7 separate regions of the Homo sapiens genome follow, and all the other regions are linked to region 2. Evidence: promoter capture Hi-C in human tissues and cell types (Jung and others, 2019). All regions are on one chromosome and are shown on one strand. Each heading gives the region's core, a stretch centred on a gene start or on the middle of the fragment in contact. The rest is flanking DNA. Distances are from core to core; before and after follow the strand shown. Region 1 overlaps LINC01697 (long intergenic non-protein coding RNA 1697). Region 2 holds the start of ADAMTS1 (ADAM metallopeptidase with thrombospondin type 1 motif 1). Region 3 has its middle 14 kb from the start of JAM2. Region 4 overlaps LINC01695 (long intergenic non-protein coding RNA 1695). Region 5 has its middle 11 kb from the start of LINC01697. Region 6 overlaps LINC01695 (long intergenic non-protein coding RNA 1695). Region 7 overlaps MRPL39 (mitochondrial ribosomal protein L39).

Evidence for each region. Contacts are between HindIII fragments. The study calls those that stand out against the background at their distance.
Region 1: a contact is called between a fragment that was not itself captured here and the fragment with the promoter of ADAMTS1 in region 2, in 3 of the 25 tissues and cell types used here (dorsolateral prefrontal cortex, hippocampus and mesenchymal stem cells).
Region 3: a fragment that was not itself captured here is called in contact with the fragment with the promoter of ADAMTS1 in region 2 in 1 of the 25 tissues and cell types used here (dorsolateral prefrontal cortex).
Region 4: a fragment that was not itself captured here is called in contact with the fragment with the promoter of ADAMTS1 in region 2 in 1 of the 25 tissues and cell types used here (mesendoderm cells).
Region 5: a fragment that was not itself captured here is called in contact with the fragment with the promoter of ADAMTS1 in region 2 in 2 of the 25 tissues and cell types used here (dorsolateral prefrontal cortex and mesenchymal stem cells).
Region 6: a fragment that was not itself captured here is called in contact with the fragment with the promoter of ADAMTS1 in region 2 in 6 of the 25 tissues and cell types used here (H1 embryonic stem cells, IMR-90 fibroblasts, dorsolateral prefrontal cortex and 3 more).
Region 7: a fragment that was not itself captured here is called in contact with the fragment with the promoter of ADAMTS1 in region 2 in 1 of the 25 tissues and cell types used here (dorsolateral prefrontal cortex).

What each region holds. Positions count from the first base shown.
Region 1 is chr21:28,116,962-28,120,813 of GRCh38, reverse strand. The region is part of intron 2 of LINC01697 (long intergenic non-protein coding RNA 1697); the gene reads right to left. LINC01695 (long intergenic non-protein coding RNA 1695) reads left to right here. Exons shown (of 6, transcript NR_126012.1): 6 at 940-3,852. Among named protein-coding and RNA genes, the nearest start is that of LINC01697, 70 kb to the right of the region's middle. The HindIII fragment of the contact is 6,644 bases long and covers 1-3,852 here.
Region 2 is chr21:26,844,069-26,847,591 of GRCh38, reverse strand. It overlaps ADAMTS1 (ADAM metallopeptidase with thrombospondin type 1 motif 1), which reads left to right and starts at 2,183. Exons shown (of 9, transcript NM_006988.5): 1 at 2,183-3,367. The coding sequence starts at 2,638. RefSeq lists enhancers at 799-1,398, 1,399-1,999. The HindIII fragment of the contact is 5,494 bases long and covers 1,173-3,523 here.
Region 3 is chr21:25,623,287-25,627,002 of GRCh38, reverse strand. No RefSeq gene overlaps it. Among named protein-coding and RNA genes, the nearest start is that of JAM2, 14 kb to the left of the region's middle. The HindIII fragment of the contact is 3,979 bases long and covers 85-3,716 here.
Region 4 is chr21:28,158,886-28,162,625 of GRCh38, reverse strand. The region is part of intron 5 of LINC01695 (long intergenic non-protein coding RNA 1695); the gene reads left to right. Among named protein-coding and RNA genes, the nearest start is that of LINC01695, 68 kb to the left of the region's middle. The HindIII fragment of the contact is 7,950 bases long and covers 1-3,740 here.
Region 5 is chr21:28,035,294-28,039,267 of GRCh38, reverse strand. No RefSeq gene overlaps it. Among named protein-coding and RNA genes, the nearest start is that of LINC01697, 11 kb to the left of the region's middle. The HindIII fragment of the contact is 3,864 bases long and covers 1-3,245 here.
Region 6 is chr21:28,138,567-28,142,100 of GRCh38, reverse strand. All of the region lies in intron 5 of LINC01695 (long intergenic non-protein coding RNA 1695), which reads left to right. Among named protein-coding and RNA genes, the nearest start is that of LINC01695, 88 kb to the left of the region's middle. The HindIII fragment of the contact is 3,850 bases long and covers 1-3,534 here.
Region 7 is chr21:25,593,708-25,597,661 of GRCh38, reverse strand. It overlaps MRPL39 (mitochondrial ribosomal protein L39), which reads left to right. Exons shown (of 10, transcript NM_017446.4): 6 at 248-360; 7 at 3,704-3,769. Among named protein-coding and RNA genes, the nearest start is that of MRPL39, 12 kb to the left of the region's middle. The HindIII fragment of the contact is 7,524 bases long and covers 1-3,954 here.

The sequences.
Region 1 (3,852 bases), core at 1,312-3,811, 1.3 Mb before region 2:
TTCCAAATACATCTTTTTTTTTCTAAGTCAACAATCACCAAGTCTACCTAATGCCCCCCCTGCTAAAATATGCCTTTGAAATTATTTCTAATCAAATTTATTGAAGTGTAATTAAAATTCATCCATTTTGAGTGTATGGTTGTGTAAATTTTAAAAAATATATGCACTCACGTAACCACTACCCTAATCATTTAGAACATTCCCATAATCCCAAAAGTGTCATTCATGACTCTGTAGAAAAGACTAATGCTTTCTGTCAGGCAACCGTAAAATGATTTTTCCCCTTTTAAATAGGCTTTTTTTTTTTTTTTTTAACAGTTTTAGTTTCACAACGATATTAAGCAGTAAGTACAGGGAGTTCTCACATATCCCCTGCCCCCAAATAAGCGTAGCCTCTTCCATTATCAATATACCCTACCACTGTGGTACATTTATTACAATTGATGCATCTAACTTGACAAATCATATCATCCAAATTCAGGGTTTACATTAGGGTTCACTCTTGGTTTATATATTATATGGCTTTTGACAAATATACAGGGAGACGTATCTACCATTGAAGTATCGTTTCGAGTAGTTTAACTGCCATAAAACTCTGTGTTCTGCTTATTCACCTCTTTTTATTCATCTCTTTTCTCTACTCATCCCTGGCACAGATCCTTTTACTGCACCATAGTTTTGTTTTTTTTTTCAGAGTGTTGTATATTTGGAATGATACAGTATGTATTAATAGTATTTTCAGATAGGATTTTTCCACTCAGTAATATGCATTAAGCTTCCTCCATTTATTTTTTATTTTTTGCTTGATAGCTTCTTCTTTCCCCTAAGTTGAATAATAGTTCATTGTCTGGATATACCATTGTTTATTTCTCCGTTCCTCCACTGAAGGAAATCTTGGTTGTTTTCTAGTTTTGACAATTAAAAATGAAACCGTTACAGGGTGTGGTGACGCAACCTGTAGTCCCAGCACTTCGGGAGGCCGAGGTGGCAGATCACTCGAGCTCAGGAGTTCAAGAGCAGCCTGGCAAAATCCCGTGACTCCAGAAGTATGAAAATTAGCCGGGCGTGGTGGCGCACACCTGTAGTCCTAGCTACTTGGGAGGCTGAGGTGGGAGGATTGCGTGAGCTCGGGAGGTTAAGGCTGCAGTGAGCTGAGATCGCACCACCACACTGCGGTCTGGGTGACAGAGTGAGATCCTGTCTCAAAAAACAAAATAAAATATAACAAAACTGGTATAGACATTCATATGTAGGTTTTTGTATGGATTTGGTATGATTTTTATTGTTAAAGTTTAGTTTTTATGTTTTAGAGTTATATATATATATGAATCATTTAATTTGTATGCTTATGTGTTTGGCTCCTTTTCCTCAGCATAATGTTTTAAGATTCCTCTATGAATCAGTTGCATATATCAGGAGTTTTTTCTTATAGTTCAGTAATATTCCATTATGTGAATATAGTATAATTTCTTTATCTCTTCAGCTGTTAATGGACATTTAGGGTGTTCAGTTTGGGGATATTTGAAATGTTATGAACATTTTTGTACAGATCTTATGATACATACATTTTTATTTTTCTTATCAGAATGATATTACTGAGTCATGTGATATTTTTATTTTTAACATTATGTAAACTGTTTTAAATAGAACAATTGTTTTCCAAAGTAGCTGTGCTATTTATACCTTCAGTCAAAATATACAAAAGTTTCTTGTTACTGCACATAATCTCCAACAGAAAGGACTTATGGTAAATCTTTAACAAATTTTAGTCATTCTACTCCCTGTTGGTGGTATCTTTTTGTGGTATTTTTGAAAGAAATTGACTTTTATTGAGATATGATTTACATATAATTAAATGACCACATTAAGAGTACACTTTGATAAGTTTTGCTAACTGTACATATCAATGTAACCACCACAATTGAAAATTAGATCTTTTTTATCTTCTCAAAGTGTTCCTTTATGCTCTTCTGTAGACAATCTTCCCCAGTCCTCAACACAGGCACCAATGGATATGAATTCAGTCATTGTCGACTGGTGTTCTGCCTGTCCTAGATGTCACGTAAATGGATTCAAATAGATGTGTGCTCTTGTGTCTGACTCCTTTTGTTCAGCGTGGTGCTTTTGAGATTTATCTGTGTCATTTGGGGTATCAGTAATTCATATCTTTTATTTCCAACTAGGGTTGTGTGATTATACCACAATGTCTTTTGCAAATTAGTTGTTTCATTTTATATATTTTATATGTATCAGCAGTTTATGAGTTATAAATAACTTTTCTTTATAAATTACCCAGTTTCAGGTAGTTCTTTGGTGGTGTTTTCCTGTTGCTCTCCGTTCTAACACCTGATATTGTTGGTCTTACTTTTAGCCATTTTAGTACTAGATGCTCCCCGACTCACGATGGGGTTATGCCCCAATAAATCCATTGTTAAGTTGAAAATATCACAAGTTGAAAATGCATTTTTAATACACTTTAACTATCAAACGTCATAGCTTAGCCTAGCCTACCTTAAACAGGCTCACAACACTTACATTATTCTACACTTGAGCAAAATCATCTGGCAACACAGCAAACTGTAGAGTATCTCTTGTTTACTCTGGTGATCTTGTGGCTGACTGGAAGCCTTAGCTCCCTGCCACTGTCCAACATCCCAAGAGGGTTTTCTACTGCTTTCTACTGAATGTGTATTGCTTTTGCACCATTTTAAAGTAAAAAAAGTTATATGTCAAATCATCAAAAGTTGTTTTGATGAGATTTTCTGTTTGTGTAGTAATATTTCACTTTAGTTATAATTTCTGTATACCTGACAGCCAATTATATTGTGTATGTTTATATTTATTTACTTATTTCATACCTTCTTGTATGAAATTGTTGTCCAAATTTTTTGTCCAGTTTCTAAATCACAGTTTACTTTCTCATTATTAATATGTTTTTTATTTTTATTTTTTATTATTTTTGTTTTTAGACGGAGTCTCTTCTCTGTCGCCCAGGCTCGAGTGCAGTGGCGCAATCTCTGCTCACTGCAAGCTCCGCCTCCTGGGTTCACGCCATTCTCCTGCCTCAGCCTCCCGAGTAGCTGGGACTACAGGCGCCCGCCACCACACCTGGCTAAGTTTTGTATTTTTTTAGTAGAGACGGGGTTTCACCGTGGTCTACATCTCCTGACCTCGTGATCTGCCCGCCTCGGCCTCCCAAAGTGCTGGGATTACAGGCGTGAGCCACCGCACCCGGCCAAGTTTTTTCTTTTGTAAAATTTGAATATATAAGTCCCATATAAGGTCAATTTATTCTTTTTTCTCGCATGGTCAGTGCTATACAAGATGATAAAGATATATGCCTACCTTTTCTTTTGTTAAGTTTATATTTCAGCTCATATGTTAAATCTATAATCCATTTTGAGTTAATTTTGTAGATGGGGTGAGGTAAGAATAGATACACAACTTTTAGGCTGATATTCAGTTGTCCTAGCACTAGTTTATTGAAGATACTTTTTTCCCCATTAAATGTCCTTGAACTTTTTCAAAAAAGCAATTGACTATATGTGTTTGGGTGTTGATACAGTTTGAGTCTGTGTCCCCACCCAAATCATGTCAAATTGAAATCCCCAATGTTGGAGGTGGGGCCTGGTGGGGAGTGATTGGTTCATGGGGACAGATTTTCCCTTTGGTGTTGTTGTTATGACAGCGAGTGAGTTATGAGATCTGGTTGTTCAAAAGTGTGTAACACCTCCCCACTCTCTCTTCCTCCTGCTCTGGCCATGTAAGACGTGACTGCTTGCCCTTCACCTTCCGTCATGGTTGAAAGTTTCCTGAGGTCTCCCCAAACATGCTTCCCATACAGCTTCCCAA
Region 2 (3,523 bases), core at 934-3,433:
TTTGCCTTCAAGCTTTTGTGATCCCGCGGTCAATATCTTGAAAGTCTAACATGACTTTCCTCATATGTTCTCTCAAGTATCTTGCCTTTTTTCTAGCTAGAAAGAACCAGTAAAATGAAATGAAATCATAGAAAATGGACCGTCAAAAAATTACTGTAATAGAAGATAACAATGTTAAAAAAAAAAGTCTGAAAACCAAACTGGGAAGTAGGAATGATCAGATGTTTGGGAAAAGACGCTTGGGAAACAGAGAAACAGGAAGGAATAATCCTCGTAGTTCGAAGTCGAAGAGAAGGAGGTAGGCTGGACAATGCTTGACAATGCAGAAAGGAATCACACACTCAGGTGTGCGGATGTCAATGTTGAGTTTGAAGGAGAAATGCAACGGCGGGAGGGGGGGAGAGACAGCGAGGGCTGCAAAGGAGAGACTCAGTGAAAAGAGGTAGGCAGAAACACTATCAGAATGTTAATCGAGCGCTGTCAAAATATATCTAAGGCCTTGGTTGATTATTCAACGTTCAACGATGAGGGTGATTTTAGGAAACCAAAATTAAATCTACGAAACCACCCACTCCTAAATGTGTAGGGACTAGAGGTCGTTACTAAGCCCTTCAGAAGTAAGCTGAGTTGCTTCTCTCTGCCATTCTTGCTCATTTGATTTTTCCTGATGAGTGGAAAGCAATGTTTTTGTTTTTGTTTTTCAAGTAAGCAATCTCGCTAGGAAAAAAGAAGTTGGAAAGCATCCGGAAAAGAAAGCTTGTAAGAGGGACGTGTGGGAGAACTAGAAGGGACGCTTCTGGCTGGGGCCAACTGAAGTGGGGAAGATCTGGGGAGGAGCGAGGAAAGGACCCAGATCTACTTGGAGCCAACCAAGAGACCGGACGGGAGTGGGGCGGAAAGGCGGAGACCAGTTCGAGCACTAACGCGGGGGCGCGCGAGTGTGAGGGTTGCGGGTCCGCCCGGGGCTAGGGCGGTCGCTCTCGCCATTGTCCCCGCGGCTTTCCGCCTGTGAAACACGTCCTTCCTCTGGGTCCTTGAGCCCCTCCCACTTTTTGGAGAGAAGAGCCACTCAGTTTTTTTTCCTAAGGACCTGTTGGTGGACCTCTCCTCGCTTTCGTAACGCGGATATAGCCTTTTCCCTTCCTGGTAGGAAGAGGAAGGAGGGGTCCGGGAAGGAAGCCGATTTCCTTCTTTCCCCCTCTGCACGCTTGCTAGCCCCAGCGATCGCTGCTGGCCCCCGGGTAGGAAAGTGGGGTTCCTGGCCGTTTCTGCGACGCTGGCCTAGGGCTTGCAGCTGCTGTTGAGTGAAAGCACGCAGACTGGCGGGAGCCGATCATTTCTCGAATGAAGAAGAAAAAGCGCAATTCCCTCCTTATGCTCTAGGGAATTGAGCCGCGTCCCAGATCACCCATTCCAGAAATGTGAAACCGGGCCCTCACAAAGTCGTCTCTGGTGAAGAGGTGGCGTGCGGGGTGGGGGTTGGTGGAGGGTGAAGGCATAAGCAAACATATTTTAAAATCCAGATCGTAGGAAGTGTCACCTGGCCCCTCACCCAGGCATGCTTTCTGGGGGAAGCGCAGGGCCAAGCTTTCCCTAGAAAAGCTGGGGCGAAGAGAGAGCAGGCGGCGGCTAAGGAGCTCCTGGCAGGCTGGGAAGGTGGAGAAGTGGGGTGAGGTATTTTTCTAGAAAGTGTAGCCCTAGCTCATCTCCTAGATTGGGGAAGAGGGAACTGAGGGAGGAGGGAAGGAGACCCAGGGCAGCTCCAGGATAGGGAAATGTTGAAGAAGGGACTGCGTTCTCCAACCGAACCCTCCCTCCTGGGAACCGCAGCCCAGCGCGGTAACTGAGTTACCGCAACCGGGCGGTGGGGAGGAAGGGTGGTCCAGGAAACCGGCGAGGGAGAAAAGCGGTGGAAGGGAGAGTCTTCTCCCTGGAGCGGCCCCAGCAGTACAAAGTGCTGGTCACAGCGCCCCTTCCGCCCCTAGATTGACGAGCAGTGGCGTGGAGCCAGCGCGGAGGCTGCCCCCTCCCCCTCCCGAGCCCGCAGCGCGGAGCGCGGTTTAGCACCAACGGAGCCGGGGGCGGCGTCTTTGGGATGGAAAAGGGCCAAAGGGGAGGAGTGGGGTGGGGGTGGGGGTTTCACTGGTCCACTATAAAAGGACCGCTCGGCTGCCCGGTTCTTGCACTCGCTGGAAAGCGGCTCCGAGCCAGGGGCTATTGCAAAGCCAGGGTGCGCTACCGGACGGAGAGGGGAGAGCCCTGAGCAGAGTGAGCAACATCGCAGCCAAGGCGGAGGCCGAAGAGGGGCGCCAGGCACCAATCTCCGCGTTGCCTCAGCCCCGGAGGCGCCCCAGAGCGCTTCTTGTCCCAGCAGAGCCACTCTGCCTGCGCCTGCCTCTCAGTGTCTCCAACTTTGCGCTGGAAGAAAAACTTCCCGCGCGCCGGCAGAACTGCAGCGCCTCCTTTTAGTGACTCCGGGAGCTTCGGCTGTAGCCGGCTCTGCGCGCCCTTCCAACGAATAATAGAAATTGTTAATTTTAACAATCCAGAGCAGGCCAACGAGGCTTTGCTCTCCCGACCCGAACTAAAGGTCCCTCGCTCCGTGCGCTGCTACGAGCGGTGTCTCCTGGGGCTCCAATGCAGCGAGCTGTGCCCGAGGGGTTCGGAAGGCGCAAGCTGGGCAGCGACATGGGGAACGCGGAGCGGGCTCCGGGGTCTCGGAGCTTTGGGCCAGTACCCACGCTGCTGCTGCTCGCCGCGGCGCTACTGGCCGTGTCGGACGCACTCGGGCGCCCCTCCGAGGAGGACGAGGAGCTAGTGGTGCCGGAGCTGGAGCGCGCCCCGGGACACGGGACCACGCGCCTCCGCCTGCACGCCTTTGACCAGCAGCTGGATCTGGAGCTGCGGCCCGACAGCAGCTTTTTGGCGCCCGGCTTCACGCTCCAGAACGTGGGGCGCAAATCCGGGTCCGAGACGCCGCTTCCGGAAACCGACCTGGCGCACTGCTTCTACTCCGGCACCGTGAATGGCGATCCCAGCTCGGCTGCCGCCCTCAGCCTCTGCGAGGGCGTGCGCGGCGCCTTCTACCTGCTGGGGGAGGCGTATTTCATCCAGCCGCTGCCCGCCGCCAGCGAGCGCCTCGCCACCGCCGCCCCAGGGGAGAAGCCGCCGGCACCACTACAGTTCCACCTCCTGCGGCGGAATCGGCAGGGCGACGTCGGCGGCACGTGCGGGGTCGTGGACGACGAGCCCCGGCCGACTGGGAAAGCGGAGACCGAAGACGAGGACGAAGGGACTGAGGGCGAGGACGAAGGGGCTCAGTGGTCGCCGCAGGACCCGGCACTGCAAGGCGTAGGACAGCCCACAGGTAGAAGAATTGCTCTCGTTTGTCTGTCCATTCATCCTCCTCTCCTCACTTTATCTATCCCACGCGACTTCAGGGTAGACTCCTGCTGGCAGGCAGGATCATAAGTCCGCGGACAGAACGGAGGCCTGGAGTGGAGGAATGTGGTTTGAGGTTTGG
Region 3 (3,716 bases), core at 825-3,324, 1.2 Mb after region 2:
AAGTTCAAATGCTTGTCTGTTGGCTTGGAGCCAGGGCACACAATGGCAAGGAACAGCAGAGGCTTTGAAAATGCCCCTTGGGGTGGATGATGTTTAACAAGCAGGATGCAGGGTGAGGGCCTGTGGCGGAAGTGACCATCCTTGTCATTCCTTCCTAGGATAGGGACTCAACATCCTGGAGCACTAAAAATCAAAGGTAGAGATATACTGGCCATTCCAGAAGCAAAAAGCTTTTCCCTCAGACCCAGTCTCTGAGAAGCCACCTAACACCTCTGGAACTTTGGTTCTTTGTATACAGAAAATGGGACTGAGATATGTGATCTTAAAGGCATTTTCAAATAGAAAACTACACTGCTCTTATGTTTGAGTCTGCAAATTCAGAAACAAAGATTAAGCAATTAAAAAAAATTTTTTGGGGGGACAGAATCTCATTCCGTCTCCCAGGCTGGAGTGCAGTGGCAGGATCTTAGCTCACTGCAACCTCCACCTCCCAGGTTCAAGCCATTCTCATGCCTCAGCCTCCTGAGTAGCTGGGATTACAGGCGTGCACCACCATGCCTGACAAATTTTTGTACTTTTAGTAGAGACAGAGTTTCACTATGTTGGCCAGACTAGTCTCAAATTCCTGGCCTTAAGTGATCTGCCCGCCTTGGCTTCCCAAAGTGCTGCTATTACAGGCATGCGTCACTGCACCTGCACCCGGCTGGATTAAGCAATTCTTTTTTTTTTTGAGATGGAGTCTCCCTCTGTCTCCCAGGCTGCAGTGCAGTGGCACAGTCTTGGCTCACTGCAACCTCCACCTCCTGATTCAAGTGATTCTTCTGCCTCAGCCTCCTGAGTAGCTGGGATTACAGACATGTGCCACCACACCCGGCTAATTTTTGTATTTTTAGTAAAGACGGCATTTCACCATGTTGGCCAGACTAGTCTCGAATTCCTGGCCTTAAGTGATCTGCCCACCTTGGCCTCCCAAAGTGCTGGGATTACAGGCGTGAGTCACCGCACCCAGCCAGATTAAGCAATTCTCCTAATAGCAAAACCATATACTAGGGCTGGAAAGATGTCAAAATGGTAAGCGACCTGGACTCAGCTACTACAGCTATTTTTTTCTTTACTGCCCCCGGCCACTGAACTGGAACACATTTTCTCCCTGTCTCTGTTTAAAGTGTAATAATTATTATTATTATTTTGAGACAGAGTCTTGCTCTGTGGCCTAGGCTGGAGTGCAGTGGCGTGATCTTGGCTCACTGCAGCCTCCGCCTCCCACGTTCAAGCGATTCTCGTGCCTCAGCCTCTTGAGTAGCTGGGATTACAGGCGTGCACCACCATGTCTGGCTAATTTTTTTGTATTTTTAGTAGAGATGGGGTTTCACCATGTTGCCCAGGCTGGTCTCAAACTCCTGACCTCAAGTGATCCACCCGCCTCGGCCTCCCAAAGTGTTGGGATTACAGGTGTAAACCACCATGCCCAGCCTAAAGTATACTTAATTTTATTGTAGTGGGTCAATAATGTTAGAATAGAAAGGGATATAGGGAGACAGAAGAAAGAGATGCCTTAATTGGGGGATATAAATTGGGGATTCATAAGATCATCTGTTTCTTTTCTCTCTTCTGATTCTCCTTTTATCACTTTTTTCTACCCTCCCTTCCCTCTTTCTGCATTTAAAAGCACCAAAATATTAACTGAGATTCTTAGTTAAGAAAGAGCTACTGTTATTTAGCGAAATCTTTCCACAGCATTTTTTTCAGTGAGGAAGGATTTGGCTTTTGGCCCAACTTGACCACAGTTTATCAATGGTTTATGATGAAAGAGAATTTAGCTTTCTACTGTCAAGGCTTTTTTTGAAACACCAAAGAATAAAGCCTCAGCTGGTACTTGGAACAATTCTAGCAGGTTCAAGTTCTTTTCTTGACCTTTGCTATTAGGAGAAAAAGCAATAGGAAGAATAATGGAAGCTTTTTGCTACTGGAAATCCCTGTAGTTTTAAACTCAACAGTTTTAGTTAATTAAAACTCATCTTTTATAAAAAAGTTACTTAAAAAAAACATACGCACTGTAGAATTAGAAGTGAAATGTCATACTATCCATAATTTATATTAAAATACTTCAGAAAAATAAAGAAGCAGCAAAATGTGGCAAATTGCTAACCTATGTGCTGTAGTTTGTTCAGGTTGCTATAAGGAAATACCATAAACTGGGTGGCTTATAAACAACAGGAATGTATTTCTCACAGTTCTAGAGGTTGGGAAGTCCAAGATCAAAGGGTTGCCAGCAGATGCAGTGTCTGGCTAGGGCCCATTTTCTGATTCACGGATAATGCCTCTCACCGAGTCCTTACACCGTGGAAGGGGAGAGGGTGCCCTCTGGCTCTTTTATACGAGCTCTAATCCCATTCATGAGGGATCTACCCTCATGACCTAATCACCTCCCTAAGGTCCCATCTCCTGGTACCAGCACATTGGGGATTAGGTTCCAACATCTGAATTTTGGGGAAACACAAATATTCAGACCATAGTACTAGGTGTGAGTATCTAGAATTTGTTACACTATTTTTTCTGCTTTTTCTGTATGGTTGAGATGTTTCACACATATTTCAAAATTTCACATACATAAAAAAATTAATAAGTTAACCTCATCTTCATAAATAAGGGCCCAAGTATATTGAGTTAATTCTATACCCTCTTCCCTGCACTAACTTGCTGGCTCTTCAAAATAGCAAAAATAGAGAAAATCTCTTTATTGTGTTCCTGGGTCCACTTATTCACTTGATCCAAGAGAAATGATCACTATTAAAATAAGTTTAACTTTAAAGAGGTCTTGACTGAGAGTTGAAAGTCCAATTTATTGGGGAGAAAAACAGAAATTTGTGTTCTTTCTTGTTTTTATCTTGCTCTGTCCAACTGAATCTAAGGTCCCTGCTTTTTAGAATAGAAGAGCACAAGGAAAGAAGCAGAGGAGCTAGCAGGGTGAAACTCCACGGGCCGTTTCCCTTGCTTGCTTAGGAGAAGTAAATAAAATTAACCTTTCTCACACACACAAACAAAATACACTCAGGTCTAAGTTGGAAAAGTAATACTGATGACTTTTAAGAAAGAAACTTGGGGTATTAGTGAGGACTTGAGAGAAAGGGATGGGGAGACTTAAACATTGGTTTTAGGGCCTATGCCTATTTTTTTCTATTCACACTAAGTTACACTTAATGTTTTCCAACTGAGCAGGGGACTGAACTCTCAACCAGTGCTTCTCAGGCTTCAACATGCATCGGAATCAACAGAGAGTCTTGTTAAAATGCAGATTTGGATTCAGCAGGACAAGGTGAGGCTGGGATCCTGCATTTCCAGCAATCTCCCAGGTGCTGGTGATCGTGGACCACACGGAACAGCAAGGCAATATTCAAATGTAATAAAATAGCTACCTCCTTTTCTGCTACTGAAAATAACAAGCTGCAAAGAAGAGCCACGTTTGAGGAAGATTGTTCATCCTACATTTTCTTACTGCATCAAATCTGGATACCTATTTTGGGCCATGCATTCTCAAGCAGGGGCAATATTTTCCCAAGGGAAAGAAAATTATTCTGTTGAGGGTTGAAGAAAAAGCTTACTCTTTTAATCTTTAAAACACAGATACATATACAGTACATAAACAGATATATCATTGATCAACTGCATTAAAATGTCACGGGGGAGATTAGGAAAAGGTCTAAAAACGTTACTTG
Region 4 (3,740 bases), core at 670-3,169, 1.3 Mb before region 2:
TCGAGATCTTGTGGGATGGAAAAATCGAAAGTGCCGTTCTGTGGCTATTTTAGAGCCTTTGTCAAGTTTGTATTGGGGCCAAGCGGTGTTGCAGAATAAAATAAGATGCTTAGATTTTAGGTCAGGCGAGAGTTGAAGAGGTTTTAAGTTCTTAAGAACACAGGCTAAGAGAGAAGAAGGAGGAATGGAGGGTGGAAGGTTGCCCATAGTGAAGGAGGCAAGTTTAAAGAGAAGGGTAGAGACACGGAGAAGGGGGTGGGGAGCAGCCCTGGGCTGCAACGTGGGTGAGCAGCCAAAGCAGGCGTCCTTGCAATTGACTTGCCACCAAGGGAACATGGGCGAATGATCAAGGAAGGCACCCCTGCGGAGATCAGACACCAGTGGAACGTGGGTGAATAATCCAAGAGGCATCTCGGCGATGATTAAACACCAAGGTAAGGCTGTCTTCCCGAGTCCGTGACCGGCGCCGGAGTTTTGGGTCCACAGATAAAATGTGTCTCCTTTGTCTCTACCCGAAAATGAAAGGAACTGAAATTAACAGAAGGGAGAGATTGAAGTGTGGCGCCAAGCTTGAAAGGAGAAAGAGGTTGAGGGATAGTGAGGGAGGTTGGAGAAGAGAGTAAAAAGAGGCCGCTTACTGGATTTGAAATTGGTGAGATGTTCCTTGGGCTGGTCAGTCTGAGGACCTGAGGTTGTAGGTGGATCTTTCTCATGGAGCAAAGAGTAGGACAGGGGATTGATCTCCCAAGGGAGGTCCCCTGATCCCAGTCACGGCACCAAATTTCACTCGCGTCCGTGTGAAGAGACCACCAAACAGGATTTGTGTGAGCAACAAGGCTGTTTATTTCACCTGGATGCAGGCGGGCTGAGTCTGAAAAGAGAGTCAGTGAAGGGAGATAGGGGTGGTGCCGTTTTATAGGATTTGGGTAGGTAAAGGAAAATTAGTCAAAGGGGGTTGTTCTCTGGCTGGCAGGAGTGGGAGGTCACAAGGTGCTCAGTAGGGGAGCTTTTGAGCCAGGATGAGCCAGGAGAAGGAATTTCACAAGATAATGTCATCAGTTAAGGCAGGAACAGGCCATTTTCACTTCTTTTGTGGTGGAATGTCATCAGTTAAGGCAGGAACCGGCCATCTGGATGTGTATGTGCAGGTCACAGGGGATATGATGGCTTAGCTTGGGCTCAAGGCCTGACAGGACACATAAATATGATTTTCAGGAAGAAAGTCATCAAATTTTAAATCACCCCTGAACCATGGAAGGCAAAAACTCTGGCCTTAATGTTTTAGGAAATAAACAAATAGTTTCTTAATATGCTGCTGAATATAAAATTATTTTTATTTTCTTTTTTTTCCATTCTAATCTTTAAATTTTTCTCCTTTTGCCCAAAAAGTTAACAAAGACAAATTATAAATCTTTGCATATACAAAAGGCTATCAAAATGATGGAAAAAAGGATCTCATCATTTAAGTTTTCATGATTTATGAAATATTTCAAAGATTTGCAAATAACTGACATTGTTATAATCCATAAAATAGTGTAATGCTAAAACTAGAAACCACAGAGTAATACTGTCCAGGTATGAATTCTGTATGTGCTACTTATTCATTGGTGACCTTTGACAATGTATAGCATCTCTCTAGACTCCATTTTACTCATCTGTAAAATGAAGGGTATCTTTCACATAGAGTACTCATAAGAATTAAATGCATTATAGAACAATGAAGGAAACATAGTAAATTCAATATAAGTGTTAAATAAACAGGTTCAGTGGCATTCATGTACCTGCCACCTACCCTAATTTATCCTATTTTCACATATTTGCTTTAGATTTTCTGAGCATAAAACATTACAAATATTGTTTTAGTTAATGAATTGCTTCATAATATATCGCTCCCAAAATAAGTGATGTAAAACCATAACATTTATTTTCTCACAGTTTCTGAGGCTCAGGAATTTAGGAGTTGCCTAGTGGGATGCTTCTGGCTTGAAGTCTCTCACAAGTTTGCGGCCAGAGGTGCAGTCATCTGAAACTTTCACTGGGGTTGGGAAATCGAGCTTCAAGTTTGCTCACTCACATGACTTAGCTAGGAAGCCTTAGTTTCTCCCCACATGGATCTCTCAATAGGGCTGCCTGGGTGTCCTCACAAGTCAGCTGGCTTTCTCTCCAAGTGAGTGCTCTGAGAGACAAGATGAAAACTACAAATATCTTGTATGGCTTATCTTTCTGTGTCACATCTATCATTTCAACAATGTTTTATTCCTAAGGAGTCAGTAAGGACAATCAGATTCAAGGGGAGAAAATTAACTCTGTCATTTGATGAGAAAGCATCAAATAATTTGTAAACATGTTTCAAACCACTATAAATACAATTGAGCCTCCTATTCCATCCTGACCATCCATTTCCTTTACCTCCTTCTGTAGAAGTGAGTGCTATCCTGAAGTTGATATGAGTTGCATAATCTCCCAAATCAAGCTGGGTACAGGTGACATATATGCCCAAGATGCAAATTCCCTACTGTATCTGATTGTGAGTGCCTTACACAGCCAGAGCTATTGCTGCAAATTGAGACTAGCCTCTTCTATTAGCCTGGGTATGCAGTACAATATCATTAAGTGTATCATGAAATATTAAGGTTTATCATATGTGCTATGACATAAAAACCATTTTTAAAGAAATAAATAGTTCCAGTGATCCCTGAAGCCAGAAACATTGCATCTTTAGCCCTTAAGAGAGACAGAGAGAGCAGGAAGAGTGGCAGCTTGGAGACTGTAGGTGGGAGGAAAAGGAATTGCCAGTTCAGTAAACTTTGTCAATGCATTATTCTCCCACTTCAGACTTCCGAGGGCCACATTAAATTTCATGGCATTTAAAAATACGTTTTTTAAAACAAAAAAAGTTCTATCCTAGAACTTTATTGTTGTGGTGTTACAACTTAAAGAACCAGAGAACCAGATCATCTTAAGGTAAACAACATTCTTTTGAGAAAGACACATGATGATGGGAACAAGGAACTAATTAATCTTGAGATTTAAATCAAGGAAAGAGCAATGGGTATGGTTTCTGTCACAAGGAACTGACAGGAAGTACATAGATAAGAAGGCTACTACATTTTTGACGGAAGTATATTGTGATTTTGTTGATGATTCCTGGTTGATAACTCCCATAGCCCCTTTTATACCCTTCTATTATAATGCTGGGGCACTTTAGGCCTCAGGAGCAGACCTCATGGAACAGAAACTCTCTTTCTCTCTCTGAAATTCTCCTGTCCTTCTTCCACAGGCAAGACTCTAATCTGATTGTAGTTCAAAATATTCTCATTCCATCAGGGCATGGTGGCTCACACCTGTAATCCCAGCATTTTGGGAGGCCAAGGCGGGCGGATCACTTGAGGTCAAGAGATCGAGACCATCCTGGCTAACATGGTGAAACCCCATGTCTACTAAAAAATACGAAAATTACCTGGGTGTGGTGGTGTGTGTGTGCCTGTAGTCTCGGCTACTCGGGAGGCTGAGGCAAGAGAATCGCTTGAATCCAGGAGAATCGCTTGAATCCAGGAGGCAGAGGTTGCAGTGAGCCAAGATCGTGCCACTGCACTCCAGCCTGGCAACAAAGAAAGACTCTGTCTCAAAAAAAAGAAAAAAAAAAAGTTCTCATTCCAAAGAAGGTCCCTGCTCCTACCCTAGAAGAAAGAATGCTACACAAAGAGGCCAAGAAAAGTCTGAAGAGACAAGCCTCATTG
Region 5 (3,974 bases), core at 64-2,563, 1.2 Mb before region 2:
CTGGAAATGCCTAATTTCCTCCCTTGGGTTAATGTAGAGGAAAGAATCAAAAGGCTTAGAAAGATTGGGATGATGGAGGAGATTAGTCACTTTACACCTACCTATCCGAGCTGGGTGGGTCCAGAAGATATATTCTTGGCCAGTGTTTTGTGAAATAGACTTGTGAGAGCAGCACCTGCATCTTTGAAGAGCCCTGTAATTGCTCTTCTCTGTATATCAGATCTAACAGTGGGAACTGCAGTCACTCAACTACAAAATTGAAATACAATGGGAATACTTGGATCCTGAGGTGGCAGGGGCCAAGTGGCAGCACTAAACCATCAAAGGCAAGGTGGGCATAGCTATTATAATGGACAGCAGAGGCAAAGCAGCAATTAAATAGTGCAAACTCGTGTAGAGCTCTGGTATTGGCTAATCGTGATGTTCCTAGAAATGAAATTGATAGGAAGCCTACTGAATTCCTGCTTAATTTATATAGGCAGAAAACATCCAGGTCAAATGGACAAAAGACTAATTTGAATGATAAAAACAGAGAACCATGGCCCCTCAATTAATTTCCAGATTGGAGCCAGAACCAGAACCCCTTGAATAAAGGGGAGGCCAGGTCCCTTTGATCAAGAACCCCACTATACTACTGACAATTTATGCTGTTATTCTTTCTCCCATTCTTCCCCGAGGAGGCTTCTGACCTGTTACCAGGGCAACTGTGCATTGATGAAAGGGAAATGATTAGACGTTTCAGGGACTATTAGACACTGGCTCTAAGCTGACGTTGATTCCAGGAGACCCAAAATGTCACTGTGGTCCTCCAGTTAAAGTAGGGACTTATGGAGGTAGTAATTGATAGAGTTTTAGCTCAGGCCCTACTTACACAACTCCAGGGGGTTCCCAGACTCATCCTGTGGTTATTTCTTCAGTGCCAGAATACATAATTGGCATAGACATACATAGCAGCTGGCAGAACCCCCACATTGGCTTCCTGACTGGCAGGGTGAGGGATATTATGGTAAGAAGGGCCAAATGGAAGCCATTAGAGCTGCCTCTATCTAGAAAAATCATAAATCAAAAATAATATTGCATCCGTGGAAAGATTACGGAGATTAGTGACACCCTTAAGGACTTGAAAGACGCAGGGGTGGTGATTCCCACTACATCCCTGTTCAACTCTCCTATTTGGCCTGTGGGGAAGACAGATGAATCTAGGAGAATGACAGTGGATTATTGTAAGCTTAACCAAATGGTGACTCCAATTGCAGCAGCTCTACCAGTTGTGGTTTCATTACTTGAGCAAATTAACACGTCTGCTGGTACCTTGCATGCAGCCATTAACTTGGCAAATGCCTTTTTCTCTATTCTTGTCCATTGGAAGCAATTTGCCTTCAGCTGGCAATGTAAGTATACCTTTATAGTAAATATACCTTTACTGTTCTACCTCAGGGGTATGTGAACTCTCTGCCTTTGGATCATAATCTTATTCAAAGAGACCTTGATCACTTTTCACTTCCACAAACATATCACACTGGTTTATTACATTAATGACATTATGCTGATTGGACCCAGTGAGCAAGAAGTAGCGAACATACTGGACTTATTGGTAAGACATTTGCATGCCAGAGGATGGGAAATAAATCTGACTAAAATTCAGAGACCTTCTACCTCAGTAAAATTTCCAGGGGTCTAGTGGTCTAGTGGTGTTGGACATGTTGAGACCTTCCTTCTATGGTAAAGGATAAGTTGCCGCACTTGGCCCTTTCTACAAGCAAGAAAAAGGCACAACACTTAGTGGTTTTGTGCCTATTTGGATTTTGGAGGCAACACATTCCTCATTTGGGTGTGTTATTCTTGCCCATTTACTGACTGACCCAAAAAGTTTCCAGTTTTGAATGGGGACCAGAACAGGAGAAGGCTCTGCAACAGGTCCAGGCTGCTATGCAAGCTGCTCTGCCACTTGGGCCATATGACCCAGCAGATACAAAGGTGCTTGAGGTGCCAGTGGCAGATAGGAATGCTGTTTGGAGCCTTTGGCAGGCCCCTATAGGTCAATCACAGCAGGGGCCTCTAGAATTTTCTAGCAAGGCCCTGCCATCTTCTGCAGATAACTACTCTCTTTTTGAGAGACAGCTTGTGGCCTGTTACTGGGCTTTGGTGGAAACTGAACTTTTGACTATGGCACCTCTGGTTAGCTCTCTTCTAAGCCGAGATTAAGTCCTTGATTTTGTTCCCAAAGAGAGAAAGAAAAAGCAAGGAGAAGAGTACAGTGAGTTTTAGGAGTCTGACCTGTAAATGGCCTGTATTTTTCCTTCCCACATTTCAACAACTACTGCTCAGTCTCATGACTAATCTATCTGTAAAGAGATAAATTCAGAAGCACAAAGCTAGCCTAAATATTAGAATGCCCCCTGCAAATCTCTGCCACATTAGCCCCCTGCTTTCCTCAGAAAGGCCAGGAAAACTTTTTCTGGCTACCCTGCTTACAAGAGCAACACTTCCTAAATTAAATGTTGCTCAGTGATCTTCAATCCTGCTTGTTTGTTTGCTGGTTTGAGACAGAGTCATGCTCTGTCACCCAGGCTGGAATGCAGTGGTGCGATCTCGGCTCACTGTAAGCCCCACCTCATGGGTTCAAGTGATTCTCCTGCCTCAGCCTCCCAAGTAGCTGGGATTACAGGTGCCCAGCACTATGCCTGGCTAATTTTTGTATTTTTAGTAGAGACGGGGTTTCACCATGTTGGCCAGGCTAGTCTCAAACTCCTGACCTCAAGTGATCTGCCCGCCTCGGCCTCCCAAAGTGCTGGGATTACAGGTGTGAGCCACTGCGCCCGGCCTAATCCTGTTTTTTTAATGCCCCTGGATACCCAGCTCAACTGCATGTTTTGCTTTTCTTAAAGTTAGGTGAAGTCAGGCAATGGAGCTTTTAGAGAAGAAAATGCATATAAACTGAGTGGAATTGATCAAACCTTGTAATCCTGCTTCCTTAAAATGCCTGTGTGCTGTTCTCTACTCCCTTTCTTCAACCACCAACTGAACACAGGGTTCTAGAGTTCTCAGGAGGGCAGATACAAGAGAGCAGGAGGGTGGGTTCCTGAATGACCACATGGAAGGCTTCCCACTAATAAGAAATCTTAGTATTGGGCTTCACATAAACACTGAGAAAATGGCTCTTTGGGAAGCCACTAAAATTTTTTGATTTATCTGTTATAGCAGTTAGTTATAGCCTTCCCATTTGAATGTCCTATTTCTCTGAATGTGCTTTATTTAAAACCACATCACTTATCACCATCTGACATATTCTGTATTTGCCTGTCACTTTTTCTCCTGTGTCTTCTGTCCAGAGAAAGTGTTGGCCAACTATAACCCCAGAGCCAAATCTAGCTTGCTTCCTGTTTTCATGTGTAATTATTTATTGGAATATAGCCACAGCTATTCATTTTTGTATTTAGAGAGGAGGAGCTGTGTCTATGCTACAACAGGAGAGTTCAGTAGTTGCAACAGAGAAACTGTATGATCTACAAACAATATTTACTATCTGGCCCTTTACAGAAACAGTTTGCCAATGTTTGTACTAGAATGTAAACTCCAAGAATGTAAAACCTTTGTCTCTTTACTTTGCTGTTATATAACCAGCATTAGAACAGTGTCTGATCCATTGCAGGTGTTCATATAATATTTGTTAAATGCATAAACGAATAAGTGAATGAGTGTGCAGTAGGCCAAAAATGTTCCAGAAAAAAAATTCATATCTAAATTTCTTGAACCTCTGAATATTACCTTATATGAAAAATCAGACAAACAAAAAATCAATCATTGCATGTGATTAAGTTAAAGATCTTGACCTAAAAGATTATCCAGTATTAGCCAGATGGACTCTAAATACAATCACATGTATCTGTATAAGAGGGAAACAGAAAGAAATTTGACCACACAGACAGAAAAGGAGAGGGGATGTGATCACACAGGCAGAGGTTAGACTGATG
Region 6 (3,534 bases), core at 589-3,088, 1.3 Mb before region 2:
ATTAATGTAAATTAAGAAAATGGTTGTGAGCCGGGCACGGTGGTTCATGCCTGTAATCCCAGCACTTTGGGAGGCCGAGGGAGGGGTGGATCACGAAGTCAGGAGTTCAAGACCAGCCTGGCCAAGATGGTGAAACCCCATCTCTACTAAAAATACAAAAATTAGCCAGACGTGGTGGCGGGCGACTGTAATCCCAGCTACTCTGGAGGCTGAGGCAGGAGAATCGCTTGAACCCGGGAGGTGGAGGTTGCAGTGAGCCAAGATCACACCACTGCACTCCAGCCTGGGTGACAGTGTGAGACTCCATCTCAAAAAAAGATAATAAATAAATAAATAAATAAATAAATAAATAAATAAATAAATGAAAGTCATTGTGAAGGCAGTTATGAAGATGTCTGAGAGAAAGTGATGTCAGGAAAAACCTTCACATGAAAGGAAATCTCAGGATTTTTTTCCAGATATTGAAAGCACAAAGGATAAAATCTTGAGAGTTGGTCCAAGGTTAGATAGGAATATGAGAAGTTGTCAATGCATAGAAAAAAATGCTCACTCTGTATCATTTGTTATAAATAAGAAGTAGAGGACAAAAACTGTTGATAGATTTTATTTATATTTTAAAATAAGTATAGATTCACAGAAAGTTTCAAAAAACATACAAGGAGCCCCCATGTACCCTTCACCTAGACTCTGCAAATGGTAACATCTTGTATGACAATAAACATAAAAACATATATAAACATGTACATATGCAGTTCTATGCAATTTTAGCACACATGTAGCCTTCCGTAGCCACGACTCCAATCACAACAGTTCCAGCAGCATAGGAACCATGCTTCCTTTATAATCATACCCACCTCTTTCCCCCGAAACAACTAAGTCCTATGACCATTAATCTATTCTCCTCCTCTACAATTTTGTAATCTTGTGACTATTTTATAAATGAAAATATACAATTTGTTACCTGTTGAGATTGCATTTTTTTTCATTTAGTATAATTCCCTTAAAGTAATACCCAACAATTTCCATCCAAGTGTTGAGTGTATCAACAATTTATACTAAGTTTTTTACAAAGAAGTAAAGTACTTCAACCTCAATGTTTCAAGTGTTTTAAATTAAAGAGTACTAGGTAAGACTAGTTTTATTACCTTTTAATTCTTTGTAAATTTATAACCAACAATAAGAGAGATTGTAAAGTCTTGACAAACATCATTAAAGATTACGGTACAATTATAATTTTTCCCATTGATTATTAAAATCACTTTTCATGGTTTCAGTTTGTACAGTCCATTTGCATACTACTTTGAGGAGGGTGAACTTTCTGTAGCATATATGTATGTGTATGTATGTATGTACCTCTTTATCTATATGACTGAGATATATGTATATATACATTACTGAAACAAAGTTTTCATGGGCAATAATTTTTACATGCATTTGTTTTCTATTGCTGCCATTGAAGTTACCAAAATATTAGTCGTATAAAACTACAATAATTTATTACCTTGTTGTTCTATAGGTCAGAAGTCTGACAAAAGTTTCACTGAGCTAAAATCAAGGTATTAGTGGGATTGCATTTCTCTTCAGAAGATCTAGGGGAAAATCTCTTTCCTGCCTTTTCCAGCTGCTAGAAACCAACCACATTTCCTGGTTTGTGGCCCCTTCCATCTTTAAAGCAACCAATGGCGAATAGAGTTCTTCCCACACACCAGGCTTCCCTGGTTCACTGACAACAGGGAAGCCTGGAAAGGTTTTCTGCTTATTAGGACTGCTGTGATGAGATTGGGACCACCTTGACAATAATCTACTCATATCAAATTATTTAATCGTAATCACGCCTGCCATATATGTTAACCTATGTATAGGTTCTGGGAACTAGGACATGTACATCACTGGGGGATTTTTATGCTGGGTAGGACATTCCACTTTCTAAACTCTAAAGATTTAAGACTATCTCACCTACAAAATTCATTAACCGAAACCAAGTTCCGCAGAATTCTGGACTCACTACGGCACCAACTCAGCATCCAAAATGTCACCTCACCCACTCAAAAGCTTCAAATCACATAACCTAAATTATTTAATTTATGCATGAGGAAAGCTCTGGTATAATCCATTCTGAGGTACAATTTCTCTTTATTGTGAATCTTTGAAAGTGAAAACATAAGTTACCTGTTTCTGAAATATGATGGTAGGGCAGGCATAGGATAATAGTTACAGACAGTCCTGTTTTCAAGAGGGAGAAAATCCTAGGTAAAAAAACAATCACTTGTCCCAAGCCATTTCTAGATTCTGCTAGAGAAATTAGGTTCCTAGATCCAAGACTAATACGATGTTGCTTTTAGCTTTTCCTTCTAAACCTGTGGCTTCCTCCTCTGAGTCCTTTCATGTATATGAAAAGTGGCAGATCTTTGCAACTGAGTAGCTGTGTAAGCTTCTTTCCTGCCAGAATTTTGGAGGTTTAATAGTCTTCTTTAATTTCGTATTTTCTCTGTTCCTTTCAATACAGACTGACAGTGTTTCTCCTGATATAAAATTCTCAAGAACCAAGTGGGTCTCCCATGTATGCCACAGGGGTTCACTCCATAATATGAGACTCTTTCAGAGATCTTTCTTAGATAATCAGTCTTCTATTTTTGCCTTCTGCTGAGATATGTGAGGGACAGTAACCTTAAGCTTCCTCGATGCTCTTTGGTTTGATTGAGGAAATCTAATCTCTTCAAAGAGCCCTTTATATTTGAGTACTTTTGATCTTTTTGAGGCATTAGCAAATTGCTGAGGTATAAAAACAGAAGGTTACTACAGCCGTGTCCTAGGCTTTTTCTTTAGATTATCTATCCCTGTTACTGAGTTTCTTTATTTTAATATCTTTTGCAGTCTGAATAAACTGAGAATTTCCAAAATCATTATGTCTTGGTTTCTTTTTGTTTAAACGGTTCTTTTCTCAAATTATCTCTTTCTCATTGCATTTTGCTATGAGAAGAAACAAGAAGCCAGGCGGCTTCTTCAACCCTTTGCTTGGAAATATCCTTACTTACGTATTCAATTTCATCATTTACAAGTTCTATTTTTCACCTGAACGTAGGACAACTTTGCTAAGTTTCTACCGCTATATAATATGGAAATTCTTTCTTCAAATTTTTAATGTGTTTTTTATTTCCTTCTAAGCCTTCACCAATAGTACTTTTTATGTCCCTATTTTTACTAAGTCTGTTCATGCTGATTCATGTATGCTCTAACGCAGTCTATGCCTTCTCTACCATGCTCTTCTCTTCACTTTCTTCTAAGTCCTTTCTAGCAGAATCATTAACAACCACATTTCTACTAACAATGTGTTCAAAACAATGTAAGTTTTTCTCGGATGACCTTCAACATTCTCTTAGCCTCACTCACTGCCGAATTCCAAAGCCACTTTGACATTTTATAGATATTTGTTACAGCAGTATATAACTCTCAGACATCAAAATTTGTATGAGTTTCCTAATGTCGCCATAACAAATTACCACACATGCATGCAGTGACTTTAAAAACACAAGC
Region 7 (3,954 bases), core at 1-2,500, 1.2 Mb after region 2:
GTTTTCTCTTTAATAATTAGTATTAATGAAGGCTGACACCTTAATTACAGGTAAATAAGAAGTTTTATAGTTTATGGTCCAAAACTTCAGTTGTTGCAAATTAGTAACTTTCTGTTCTAACAAATTTGATTTTATCTTTTATTTTAGTTGGATTTGCAGTACTAAGCATAGAGTTTTGTTTCAACTGGCTTATGGAGAAATGCTTTTCAGTGAATTGTTACTAAAGGTTATTACTTTCATTTTTAAGGAGAACTTACGTTCCTTCACAAAAGATGCTCATGCTTTAATTTATAAAGATCTTCCATTTGAAACTCTGGAAGTTGAAGCAAAAGTGGCATTGGAAATATTTCAACACAGCAAGTAAGTGTTGGCTTTCTTTAAATCAAGGCTAACTCTCCCAGTATTATATGTAATAAAGAAAATTCAGGTCTTAAAAATTTTTATATTTGATATACATGTGACAGTGTATTATTTTCCAGTCTGAGACCTCTGTGATCTCATTTATTTCGCTGAGGAAAATGTTACCCATGTCCCTTGATAATTTTCTCACTTTGTTTTACTTCTCTGTTCTTGGACCAGCCTTTCTCATTATATCAACATAGTGGCATGTTTCCCTTTTTTCTTTCTAGTGTGAAGTGATAATGTACGTTAAGCGACTATATAATTGTGTGTATTTGGCAGTGTTTCTCTCCTACCCCTCCACACTTAAAATGACACTGATAAGATTGAAAATGCAAGCAGTTTGGGAGGGGGCTGACAGCTGAAGTAAAATGTTTACACAGCCAGGTCTTAATCTTCTGCATGTGAATTATTCATTTGATGGATTTTCTTTAACATTTTAATTCCTGCCTGGCTTCTCAGTTCTCAGAAAACTTTCAGTTCACCTTCTACTACCAGTTGTAAGAACATGAGCTAAATTTTAACATTAATCTAATACAATATTAGAACTAACTAGAAAGAGAAACCTGTGCTGTAAAAAAAAAAAAATAACAGAGTCTGAAGCCAAAATATGCACCTAAGAATTGTGAAAGTTTACTGATTAGAATTTCTTTAGGTATATAGAAGTTGAATTACAAATTCTCATAGGGATAGGTTATCGTAAATATATTGGGTTATGAGTGTGTTTTTGACACATACTTTATAGCTTGGCATTTCTCAAAGCAGTCTGTCTTATAGTATTCTTCTATAGGATGTTAATTGACATGTGAAACCATGTACTGTGTTAAGCTGAGTTTGAAGAACAGTGGCTTAAAAAATTTTACTCGGCTGGGCGCGGTGGCTCACGCCTGTAATCCCAGCACTTTGGGAGGCCGAGGCGGGCAGATCACGAGGTCAGGAGATCGAGACCATCTTGGCTAACACGGTGAAACCCCGTCTCTTTTAAAAATACAAAAAATTAGCTGGGCGTGGTGGCGGGCGCCTGTAGTCCCAGCTACTCAGGAGGCTGAGGCAGGAGAATGGCGTGAACCCGGGAGGCGGAGCTTGCAGTGAGCCTAGGTGGCGCCACTGCAGTCCGGCCTGGGCGAAAGAGCGAGACTCCGTCTCAAAAAAAAAAAAAAAATTTTTACTCATCGCACTCAACGGTCTCCCAAAGTGGACATTGAAAATTTCCCAAATATATTTGCCCATGAAACACTTTTTCTTGAAACATTTTTAGCGTGTCCTGGAACCAGTGGATTTAGAAACCAGTTGTAATGTACTGTTTTAACTAGAGTACAGATAGTATTGTAGAACCAAACCACCATTTATAGCATTGATTCGACAAGAAAATTCTTTGGACTATCTGAACACGTGAAGTCACTCTCTGTGACAAAAGTCTAGGCACATGCTGCCCAAAAGAAATATAATATGAGACATCTGTATAATTTGAAATTTTCTGTAGTTGCATTGAAAAAAAGTCAAAACAAAAGTTGAAGTTAATTTTAATGATTTTATTTAAATGATACATCTAAAATGTTACTCAGTGTAATCAATATTAAAATATTGATGTTATTTTATATTCTTTTTCACTAAATCTTCAGAACCTGGTATGTGTTTTACACTTAAGGCACATTTTAACTAGTACTAATCACATTTAAGTGCACCATGGTACTTTACTGGACAGTGTACTTTTGACTTCCATTCAGTACACATTGAGATTTCCCATTCCTCTAACTGTCAAGGACTGGTAGCGGCTTCTGGGACTTTTGTAACTTAGTTGAGTGTGTGGTAGGAGGAAGGGGATAATTCTGGAGGAAGCTTGATAGGACAAAAGAGTTGGTTCATTGAAGGTGGGTCAGTGATTGAGTCCTTCTGCTGCAGGAGTAAGGGTGGGACCTTTTTGTGGCTTTGACTCTCAGGGGACAGGAGCATCTCTTGGAGGTGGGTCAGGAGGGATAAGTATTCAAGGGAATTGGCACCCTTATTAGTGCCTGGGGGACTGTAGCAGTCAGTGGGTGTTTTTGCATAAACCAGTGTTCCCTAACTTTGCCACATAATTGTGCATACACCTGTGGTGCACCTACACATATTACTTGTTTAGCACCCTGAGGTAAACAGACAAAGCTCTCAATAGTAAATGGTAAAGTCATGGTTTGAACCTGGGCTGTGCAGTTTCATCTGTGCCTTTAGCTATACTGACAGAATTGGGTAGATTTGAGAGATACTGGGCAGTCAAATTGACAACTTGATAATGAATTGAATAAAGGAGATATGGTAGGAGAAAGGAATCAAGGAAATCTCCCAGGTTTTTCACATGGACACCTGGGTGGTTGGTGGTATCGTACTAAGACAGGAAATTCAGGAGGAAGAACAAGTTTGGGCGGGGAAAGAGGTGGTAATTTGTGCAGTTTGCAAATTTCAGGGTAAGGTGCTTGTGGAACATCCTAGAGGATGTCCAAATGGGTCTTGGATATACAGTTTGGTGGTCAGAAGAGGTAGGTAGATTAGAAGCAGAGATATAGGACATACAACTACATAAGTTGTAGCTCAAGGGGCTGACCTAGGGAGGATGCTTAGCGTGAAAAGAGGGTGTAGGATAGAATTCTCAAAGGGTAGAGAAAGACAGGAGTGGCCAGAGATGTAAAATAACAAGCAGTAAGGAATGCCACTGATACCCATGGAAAGAGCACTTTGAGGCTGGATGTGGTGGTTCATCGCTATAATCCCAGCATTTTGGGAGACTGAGGCAGGAGGATTGCTTGACACCAGGAGTTTGAGACCAGCCTGAGCAACATGGCAAGACCCTATCTTTACCAAAAAAAGTTAGCCCGGCATGGTGGCTCACACCTGTAGTCCCAGCTACTTGGGTGGCTGAGGCAGGAGGGTCGCTTGAGCCCGAAGTTTGAGACTGCAGTGAGCTATAATTATGCCACTGCATTCCAGGGTGGGTGATAAGAGTAAGACCCTGCCTCAAAAAAAAAAAAAAAAAAAAGAACAAAGAAATAAAAATGGAAAGAAAGAACACATTGAGAAGTGGAGGTGAGCATTGGTATTAAGAAAATGAGGACCAAAAAATGTCCACTGGGTTGACACCAAGCAGGTCTGTGACTTTGTTGAGAACAGTTTGGCAGAGTCATGGGGCTGTGGCCAGATTAAAGGGAGGTTCCAAGTGTAACCTACTCTCAGAAAGTATGGCTGAAGAGGAAGAGAAAGGGAGGTATCTTTAAACACCTTTTTACATATTTTGAGTTAAAAAAATGTTTTTTTCTTTGCTGCTTTTCAGGTACAAAGTAGATTTCATAGAAGAGAAGGCATCTCAGAACCCTGAGAGAATAGTCAAGCTACACAGGTAAGTAAAAGTCTAAAAACTGGCTGCTATGTTAGAGTAAGGCTTAGCTTTATTGTTATCTGAATGAAGCATATGACCAAAAAAGATGAATTTGTGTCTTATTTTGTTCTTATTACCTTATTTTTGGTTGCTTCGTTCATTGTTTTGTTATGGTGGTAAATGGAAGCTTTAAATTATCTTCAGGA